Linked DNA regions of Homo sapiens: all the other regions are linked to region 1. The links are contacts of gene promoters, found by promoter capture Hi-C in blood cells and fetal thymus (Javierre and others, 2016). All regions are on one chromosome and are shown on one strand. The core of a region is centred on a gene start or on the middle of the fragment in contact, and the rest is flanking DNA. Distances in the headings are between cores, read along the strand shown. Region 1 holds the start of HNRNPDL (heterogeneous nuclear ribonucleoprotein D like). Region 2 overlaps CNOT6L (CCR4-NOT transcription complex subunit 6 like). Region 3 holds the start of MRPL1 (mitochondrial ribosomal protein L1).

What was found. The method cuts DNA at HindIII sites, captures the fragments that hold promoters and counts their contacts. A CHiCAGO score of 5 or more calls a contact.
Region 2: a fragment that was not itself captured here is called in contact with the fragment with the promoter of HNRNPDL in region 1 in 1 of 17 cell types (activated CD4 T cells); the score reaches 6.9 in activated CD4 T cells.
Region 3: a fragment that was not itself captured here is called in contact with the fragment with the promoter of HNRNPDL in region 1 in 2 of 17 cell types (fetal thymus and naive CD8 T cells); the score reaches 8.2 in fetal thymus.

The regions. Positions count from the first base shown.
Region 1 is chr4:82,429,162-82,431,773 of GRCh38, forward strand. HNRNPDL (heterogeneous nuclear ribonucleoprotein D like) reads right to left here and starts at 1,301. Exons shown (of 8, transcript NM_031372.4): 1 at 87-1,301. The coding sequence starts at 529. It overlaps ENOPH1 (enolase-phosphatase 1), which reads left to right and starts at 1,429. Exons shown (of 6, transcript NM_021204.5): 1 at 1,429-1,752. The coding sequence starts at 1,669. RefSeq lists enhancers at 1-760, 140-199, 520-609, 761-1,556, 1,920-2,019 and silencers at 230-469, 840-1,239, 1,360-1,679. The HindIII fragment of the contact is 3,206 bases long and covers 1-2,161 here.
Region 2 is chr4:77,811,231-77,813,842 of GRCh38, forward strand. All of the region lies in intron 1 of CNOT6L (CCR4-NOT transcription complex subunit 6 like), which reads right to left. Among named protein-coding and RNA genes, the nearest start is that of CNOT6L, 6.8 kb to the right of the region's middle. The HindIII fragment of the contact is 6,201 bases long and covers 1-2,612 here.
Region 3 is chr4:77,860,620-77,863,231 of GRCh38, forward strand. MRPL1 (mitochondrial ribosomal protein L1) reads left to right here and starts at 2,211. Exons shown (of 9, transcript NM_020236.4): 1 at 2,211-2,260. The coding sequence starts at 2,230. RefSeq lists a silencer at 199-414 and an enhancer at 1,899-2,298. The HindIII fragment of the contact is 4,015 bases long and covers 1-2,612 here.

The DNA.
Region 1 (2,612 bases), core at 51-2,550:
AATGGGGGCAGCGCGCGGCTCACGAGGAACGAAGGGCGCGTGCGGCGCGCTGGGGGAGGGGGAGCGGGGGAAGAAGCGTGCGGTACCCGTCATCCTGCTGATTCTTGCTCGCGTTGATCTTGGATCCCTCTGCGAATTCCTCTATATTGCTGTACTCGTTCATATCCTCCATAGTGACGGAGCTGTCGGCAGGGGGGTGCTGGCGCGCAGTCCGGGTCGCGGCAGCAGCGGCGGCGGAGCGTTGTATGGAGCTGGATTTAAAATGGCGGCGGAAGAGATCCGGGCGCCGCCTGCGCCCTCCCTTTATAGCCGCCCCGCCCGCCAATCGGGAGGGCTGCTGGGCGGTGACGTGGCGCTGGGCCCGGCGCGCCCCCTGCCGGGCGGAGCTGGGAGCGAGCGAAGGGAGGAGCGGGGCTAGCTGCCGCGGCGGCCGCGGCCGCCAATGGGAGAGGCTGCGGGAGGCTAAAGTAGCGGGAGCGGAGGGGAACAATGGCGGCGGCACATGGGAAAGCCTGGGCGGGACCTCCATCGCGGCCCTCCCGGCAAGGAGAGAGGCCACGCGTGAGGGGACGCGGGCTTGGGAGAAGAGAAGAATCAGAAGAGAAAAACGAAGGGGCGTAAATTCCTGGGGTCAGCAGTCCCGAGCAGAGCCGACGCAGGGCCACAGTCCCTCTTGCCTTGGGAGCCTTTGTCTCTGGCGTCCGGTCCAGCCCACTCCTACCAAAAAGCCGTCAACCCCGCCTTTTTCTGCCCTCGGTTCGCCAGTGCGGAGCCGCTGCGGCGGCCGCTGCTACCGACTAGCACCGCGGCCAGTCTGCTCCGGAAAAAGGCGGACTGCGCCCGGCGCTGGCGACTGAGGCGGCGAGCGCGCTCGCCCGCCGCGCGCACGCGTGTTTTGTCCTCGAGCTGGCAGGAACCAGCCGAACAGGAAGCGGGCGCGCGACGGCTCCTCCGGGCAGCGCAGCGCGGGCGCCTCTTCCACTGTGACCACGGGCGCGCGGGCCAAGGGGGCGCGGCGGGGCCTCCCGGGCTGATCGGCCGAAGCCCGGGCCCCGCGCGGCCTCTGGCGGGCTGACGCCGGGAGGAGGGGCGGGGGCTGGCCAGATGACTGTATCTATGCAAAGGCGGAGGCGGTGGGCGGGGAGGGGGCTGGATTCAGTAGAGGGCAAGGGGCACTCACATCCCCGGCGCGCCACTCGCGGGGCTCCTTTCTGCACGTGCCCCGGGCCTCTCCCGCTCGCTCAACCTGTCTGCGGAGGGCGCGCTCTCGCGCACCCTGCTCCCGCGTTCGCTTCTTTGTTCCCGCCCACGCGAGGCCCATTTTGACGGATCCAGTTCGAGGCCTGACGGCGGCCAATCGGCGCTGGCGCCTTCACCCTCCCCGCCCCGCCGAACCCGTCAAGGGCCGCCCCTTTTCCTGCCCACGTGGTCTCGGGCTCCTGCCCCGTCCTGCTCACGAGTTCAGGGCTCCTGGGCGGCCGCCTTTTCCAGTTCCAGGTGTGCAGAAGTGTCCTCTCCCCACGCGCGGCGGGCTGCACTTGGTCGCTGGCTCCGAGATCGCGCGGGGCCGCCGGAAGCCCAAGACGGTACCGGGGGCCGCAGCCGCAGCCGGCGCCGCCCTCCGCCCTCCCCAACAGCAGGCCGAGTCCCGTAGCATCCGGTAGGGAAATGGTCGTGCTTTCGGTCCCCGCCGAAGTCACCGTGATCCTGTTAGATATCGAAGGTACCACAACCCCGATTGCTTTCGTGAAGGTGAGGGGCGGAAGGGAGCGGGGATGTTACTTTTCCTTAAAAACAGTTATTATTTTTTCTAAGTATTTCAGGCCTTGCATTGGAGACGAGGGTTAGGAGAGGCGGTGTGGCTGCCTCTTGTGTGGAATGGGGAGGAAGGAGAGAAAGCCTGCGGTGGGTTGCGGGGATGCTTTTCCTCGCGACACTAGCTTCTCCCTCCCCCGCCCTTGCGCTTGGTTGGATCCAGATGGGTGGGAAGGGATGGAAGTTGACGCTAAAAATCACCGAAGGGCAGGTAAGCCGGGGCGGGGTGTGACGGTGCGGGCCTCGCCACCCGGCAGGTGTGCACCCGGTCGCTTCCGCAGGTGAGCGCAGCCTTTCTGCTCCGTCGGGCCTGGTGTGGCAGCGGCAGCGATTTAATGGTCCTTAAAGCTTCCGATCTCAAAATGGAAAGACTGAAGTGTCAAGATGACTTTTCAGGTGGCCCTGGTGTCGGGCAATCAAGGTTCCTCTTCGCCCCTTCCCACTCTTGCTGTTAGTGGCCAAACTGCACAGTGTATTATTTTACTCTGTTAGGCGCTGTGGTCCATAGCGCTGATTTTTTGAGCTATAGGACACGTCTAGATTCCGTTCACTTTCCTCAGAAAACCACAGAAGCTTGAAGCTCTTATCCAGAGCATTCCTTCTAGGATGTCACTGTGAACCAGCACTTGTCTGCACCTCAGCTTGCAACTTAGCGGATTCCTTCTTTATTCTTTGTCTGTTAGAATAAGCAAATATGAAATGTTACTTTAATTTTTGAAAGAATTCCTCGGGCCTTGTCTTTTTATTTGGCTCCCTGAGGTTTAAGAATTCATTGCAGATACAAGTACTTCTTAGAG
Region 2 (2,612 bases), core at 31-2,530, 4.6 Mb before region 1:
TGTGGACTGATGGGAAGATGATTAAAGATCAAGAAAGGGTCGGGCGCGGTGGCTCACACCTGTAATCCCAGCACTTTGGGCAGCTGAGGCGGGCAGATCACAAGGTCAGGAGTTCGAGACCAGCCTGGCCAACATAGTGATCTCTACTAAAAGTACAAAATCCCGTCTCTACTAAAAGTACAAAAATTAGCCTGTAGTCCCAGCTTCTCAAGAGGCTGAGGCAGGAGAATCACTTGAACCTGGGAGGCGGAGGTTGCAGTGAGCTGAGATCAGGCCACTGCACTCCAGACTGGGCGATAGAGCAAGACTCCGTCTCAAAACAAAAACAAGAAAGGAATGGGGAAGAAAGGGAGAGGGAAAAAGAGGAAAATCTAGCCCCTCTTCCTCCAGCAAGATAAGCATTATTATCTGCCCCTTATTACCTGACATAGCATCTTTATTTTTCTAATCCACATTTCACAATTCTCTCAAAACTCAATCCTAACACTCTCTCACAAACACACACACTCACACAAACAAACACTCAACAATCTAGGAAATGAACTTCCTCAACCTGATAAAGGCTATTAATGAAAAACTTATAGCTCACTACTTTCCGCACACTGCCTGCCTATGGGCTAGCCTTTCTCCGCAAGGAGCAGTTTAAAAAAAAAAAAAAAAAAAATCACAGCTAACATCTACTTAATGGCAGAAGATGGAATGTTTTCCCCCTAAGACTGGGAACAAGACAAGGATTGCTGCAACTCAAGTGACTTCTCTTGACATTTCTTTTCAGTAATGTTCTGGAGGTTCTATCCAGGGCAATTAAGCAAGAAAAGGAACTAAAATGCATCCATATTGGAAAAGCAGAATTGAAACTTCATTTGTTTGCAGGTGACATGATATTTGTATGTAGAAAATCTTATGGAATCCACTTAAAAACTATTAGAACTGGCCGGGTGCAGTGACTCACACCTGTAATCCCTGCACTTTGGGAGGCTGAGGCAGGTGGATCACGAGGTCGGCAAGACCAGCCTGGCCAACACAGTGAAACCCCATCTCTACTAAAAATACAGAAATTAGCCAGGCATGGTGGCAGGCACCTGTAATCCCAGCTGCTCAGGAAGCTGAGGCTGGAGAATCACTTGAACCCAGGAGGCAGAGGTTGTAGTGAGCCAAGACAGTGCCATTGCACTCCAGCCTGGGCGACAGAGTGAGACTCCATCTCAAAAAAAAAAGAAAAAAAAAACTATTAGAACTAAGAAATTCAGCAAGGTTGGAGGATACGAGATCAACAAACATAAATCAAGTGTATTTTTATGCACTTGTCATGCAAAAACCCCCCAAATTTTTTTTAATTCCATTTACAATATCATCTGGAAGAATAAAATACTTGGGAAGAAATGCAGCAACAGAAGTATGAAACTTATATTCTGAAAACTATGAAACACTGTTGACACTTAAAGACGATCTAAATAAATAGAAAAACATCCCATGTTCATGGACAGGAAGCCCTAATATTCAGATGGCAATGGTCCCAAAATTGATGTACAGATTTAACACAATCCCCATCAAAATTCCAGCTGACTTCTTTGCAGAAACTGACAAGCTGATCCTAAAATTGATATGGAAACACAAGAGATTCAAATAGCCAAAACAATCTTGAAAAAGAAAAAAAGAGTTTTTCATTTTTTCTTCTCAAAAGGAAAAACTTTGAGAGGTTTGAGGACTCAGACCTCTCAATTACAAAGCTACAGTAGTCAAGACCATACTAGTATAAGGATAAACATATAAATCAATGAAATAGAATTAAAAGTCCAGAAATAAATCCTCCACACTTACAGTTAATTAATTTTGGACAGGGGTGATGATACAATTCAATGGAGAAAGAACAGTCTTTTCAATAAATGGTACTGGGGCAACTAAGTACCCACAGGCAAAGAGATATTAGACTTCTACAACAGACCATGTACAGAAATTAATTCAAAATGGATCAAAGATCTAAATGTAAGAGTTAAGGCTATAAAACTCTCAGGACAAAACAGGGAAGTAAATATCTGTGGCCTTAGATTAGATATATTAGATAGATTAGAAATAGATTAGATATAGATTAGAAATAGATATATTAGATAGATTAGCTAGATTAGAAACAAGAAGTCATTATTTCTTAGATACGACACCAAAAGCACAGCAAAAATAATAACAAGAATTTCACTTCATCAAGCTAAAAACGTTTGTGCCTCAAATGACACCATCAGGAAAATGAAAAGACAACTCACAAAATGGAGGAAAATATTTGCAAATCATATATAAGGGACACATCTAGAGTATAAAAAAGACTCTTACAACTCAATAATTAAAAAACTCATTATAAAAATGGGCAAAGAATTTGAGTCTTTTCACACACTTCTCTCCAAAGAGGATATACAAATGTCCAACAGCACATAAAAAGCATCATTAGCCATCAGGGAAATGCAAATCAAAACCAGGATCAAATCACACCTGCTAGAAGAACTATGATGAAAAAAGGAGATAATAACAATTGTTGGCATGAAGTGGATAAATTAGAGCTCTCATACACTGCTGATGGAAATGTAAAATACTGCGACTGCTTTGGAAAGCAGTCTAGAAGT
Region 3 (2,612 bases), core at 73-2,572, 4.6 Mb before region 1:
AGTTCTGGTGACCAGAGTGGGCAACAGGTAAGCTGTACCTGTACAGGACATTACTTTAATTAGGCTACCACTATAAGCATACTATATGGTATGTAAGCATACTATATGGTAATAGTTTCAATATAGGATGTTTAAACTCTCTTGTTAGAACAGTAGACATAAAAAAGTCCATAAATGGGGCCTGCCGTGTTGGTTCACACCTGTAATCCCAGCACTTTGGGATTGCTTGAAGCCAGGAGTTTGAGACCAGCCTGGGCAAAAAAGAAAGACACCCCACACTCCCCGCTGTCTATAAAGAAAAATAAAAATAAGTTAGCCAGGTGTGGTGGTGTGTGCCTGTAGTCCCAGCCCCTTGGGAGGCTGAGACATGAGGATCACTTGAGCCCAGCAGGTGAAGGCTGCAATGAGCTATGATCTTGTCACTGCACTCCAGCTTGGGTGTCAGAGTGAGATCCTGTCTTGAGAGGGGGAAAAAAAAGTCCACAGATGGGGGCCAACTGACCCCAGCTGTGGACTGTGGAAAGGAAACAGATATAGGGTCTAAGGACCAGCACCTCTAATCTGAGTGTTTGTTTTTCTCTGAAATTGACTGGGTAAACTTGCTCCAATTCTGGTACTTACTCTCAAATTGAATTAGTTTTTTTCATTTATGCATAGCCAAGTACACTGCTTGACACATGGCAGGCACTCATATATTTGTGAAAAGAAGGGAGGATGAGAGGGAGCGAGGGAGAGAAGGAAAAGTTTACAAAGATAGATTTAAGTTCTTCGATTTTTTTGCATAAGTCACAAATTGTTATAGAATCTTTGAAGTAACTGCTTAGGTGTTAACAAGACAAGGCAATACATTAGAAATCTTATTTTTTCATGTAGATGAGTACTATGTATAAATATGAATAAAGCATCTGGGAAATGCCTTTGATCCAGTTCATCTGCCTGTGGGCAGCTTCATTGAAGCAAGTTAATTTTGCAGGCTTGCCATTCTAATTGAGTCACTAATTCATGTATGCATATATTCATTTATTCAGCAAACATTTACTGAGAGCCTCCTATGGGCCTGGCACTGAAGTATGTGCTGAGGTTACAAAAATGAGTAAGATGGTTTCTACCCATAAAAAGCTCAGACTGGTGACAAGAACTGATATATTGTGGTGATGGCTGCACAACTCTTTGAGTACACTAAAAACCATTTAATTGTACAATTTAAATTGGTAGATTGTATGCTATGTAAATTATATCTCAAAACTGTTTAAAAGAAACACAGCCTGAGGCGAAATCTTTAAAAAGTTACCTAGGTGATGTAGGGTACGGTACACACGAAGCAGAGAAGATAGAATGAACCAAGTTATGGAGGTGAGAAACGTGTGTGTGTGTGTGTGTGTGTGTGTGTGTGTGTGTGTGTTGTGGGGGAGGTAAGCTGGGAAGTGATAAAATCCGTAATCAGATTTGTTTTAGATAAACCACACCGACAGCTGTGACGTAATGGAAAGTACACTCATTCTGTTTTGTTTTTGTTTTTTTTTCCTATCAGAATAACTTGTGCGTGGGTCTTGGAGCTGCCATTTTAAAACTAGAAATGTTTTATAAATGTCAAGTATTATTATTCAATTGATCCTAATGGTAAGTCTACTCGCTTGCCAGCAGGGGGTAAATGTAGAGATTAATTTAAGATTTTAAAGCTAAGGTTGATCTTGCGCTGACAGAAAGTTTGACAATTAGCAAAAAAAGTTTGTCAGTGAGTTGGACACCTCCCTCGGGTAGCGGCGAAAACGCCTAGAGAATTTTTAAAATAAGTCTTTCCAAGGCCGGAAAAGTGGCGGAGGAAGCTAGTGGGTTTCAGGGTTCCTGTTTTTCAAGATTTTACGTTGGGTATTAAGTACTCTCACAGCCTGTTAAAATTGTCGCTCTGAGTACACTTGCAGGATCAAAAAAGAAAAAGAATAAGAAGGAAGGATTAAAATAATCACAGCATCGCCAACAGGATCGTATTTTCCCGAAGGTGGTTAACCAGCCATACCGGAACCACGAAACACACAGGGTCCTGGGCAACACGGAGGACTAACAGTAACACCGCCACGCCGGCAGCAAAGCTCATTTTGGTCCCCGCCCCGTTCCTCTTTCTCTTTTTAACTCCTTCCCTCTTTGCGGATTCTAGAACGGAACCTTTTTTTAATTCTTCCCAGTAGAAACGTAGGAACAATTTCGTGAACGCAATCCGGAGTGCCCAACATGGCGGCGGCCGTAAGGTGCATGGGTAGAGGTAAGGCGAGGGGTTGTCTTGCAGGGGAAATGGCTCTGGCACCGAGTCTCTGGTTGCAGCAGAGTGCAAGGCGGATTCTGCTCTGGGTGCTGAAAATGCCTCGTGCTGTTTCTGGTCTCTAGGTTTTTCAGAGGGTGGGTCATTACTACTTAAAAGTGACCTTATGAAGGGTTTCACTCCATTCTGGAGACGTCCACCCTGAGGGAGGGAGTGGGAGCGGGACGTACATCGAGCGCCCTCCAGCCACCTATGGGCATGGCAAGGACTGGGTCGTCTCTGATACTGGGGTGTGGGCTGCGGGTAGTGGAGTGTGATAAGTGAGGTGAGTTCTGATAAGGGAAAGATGATGTAT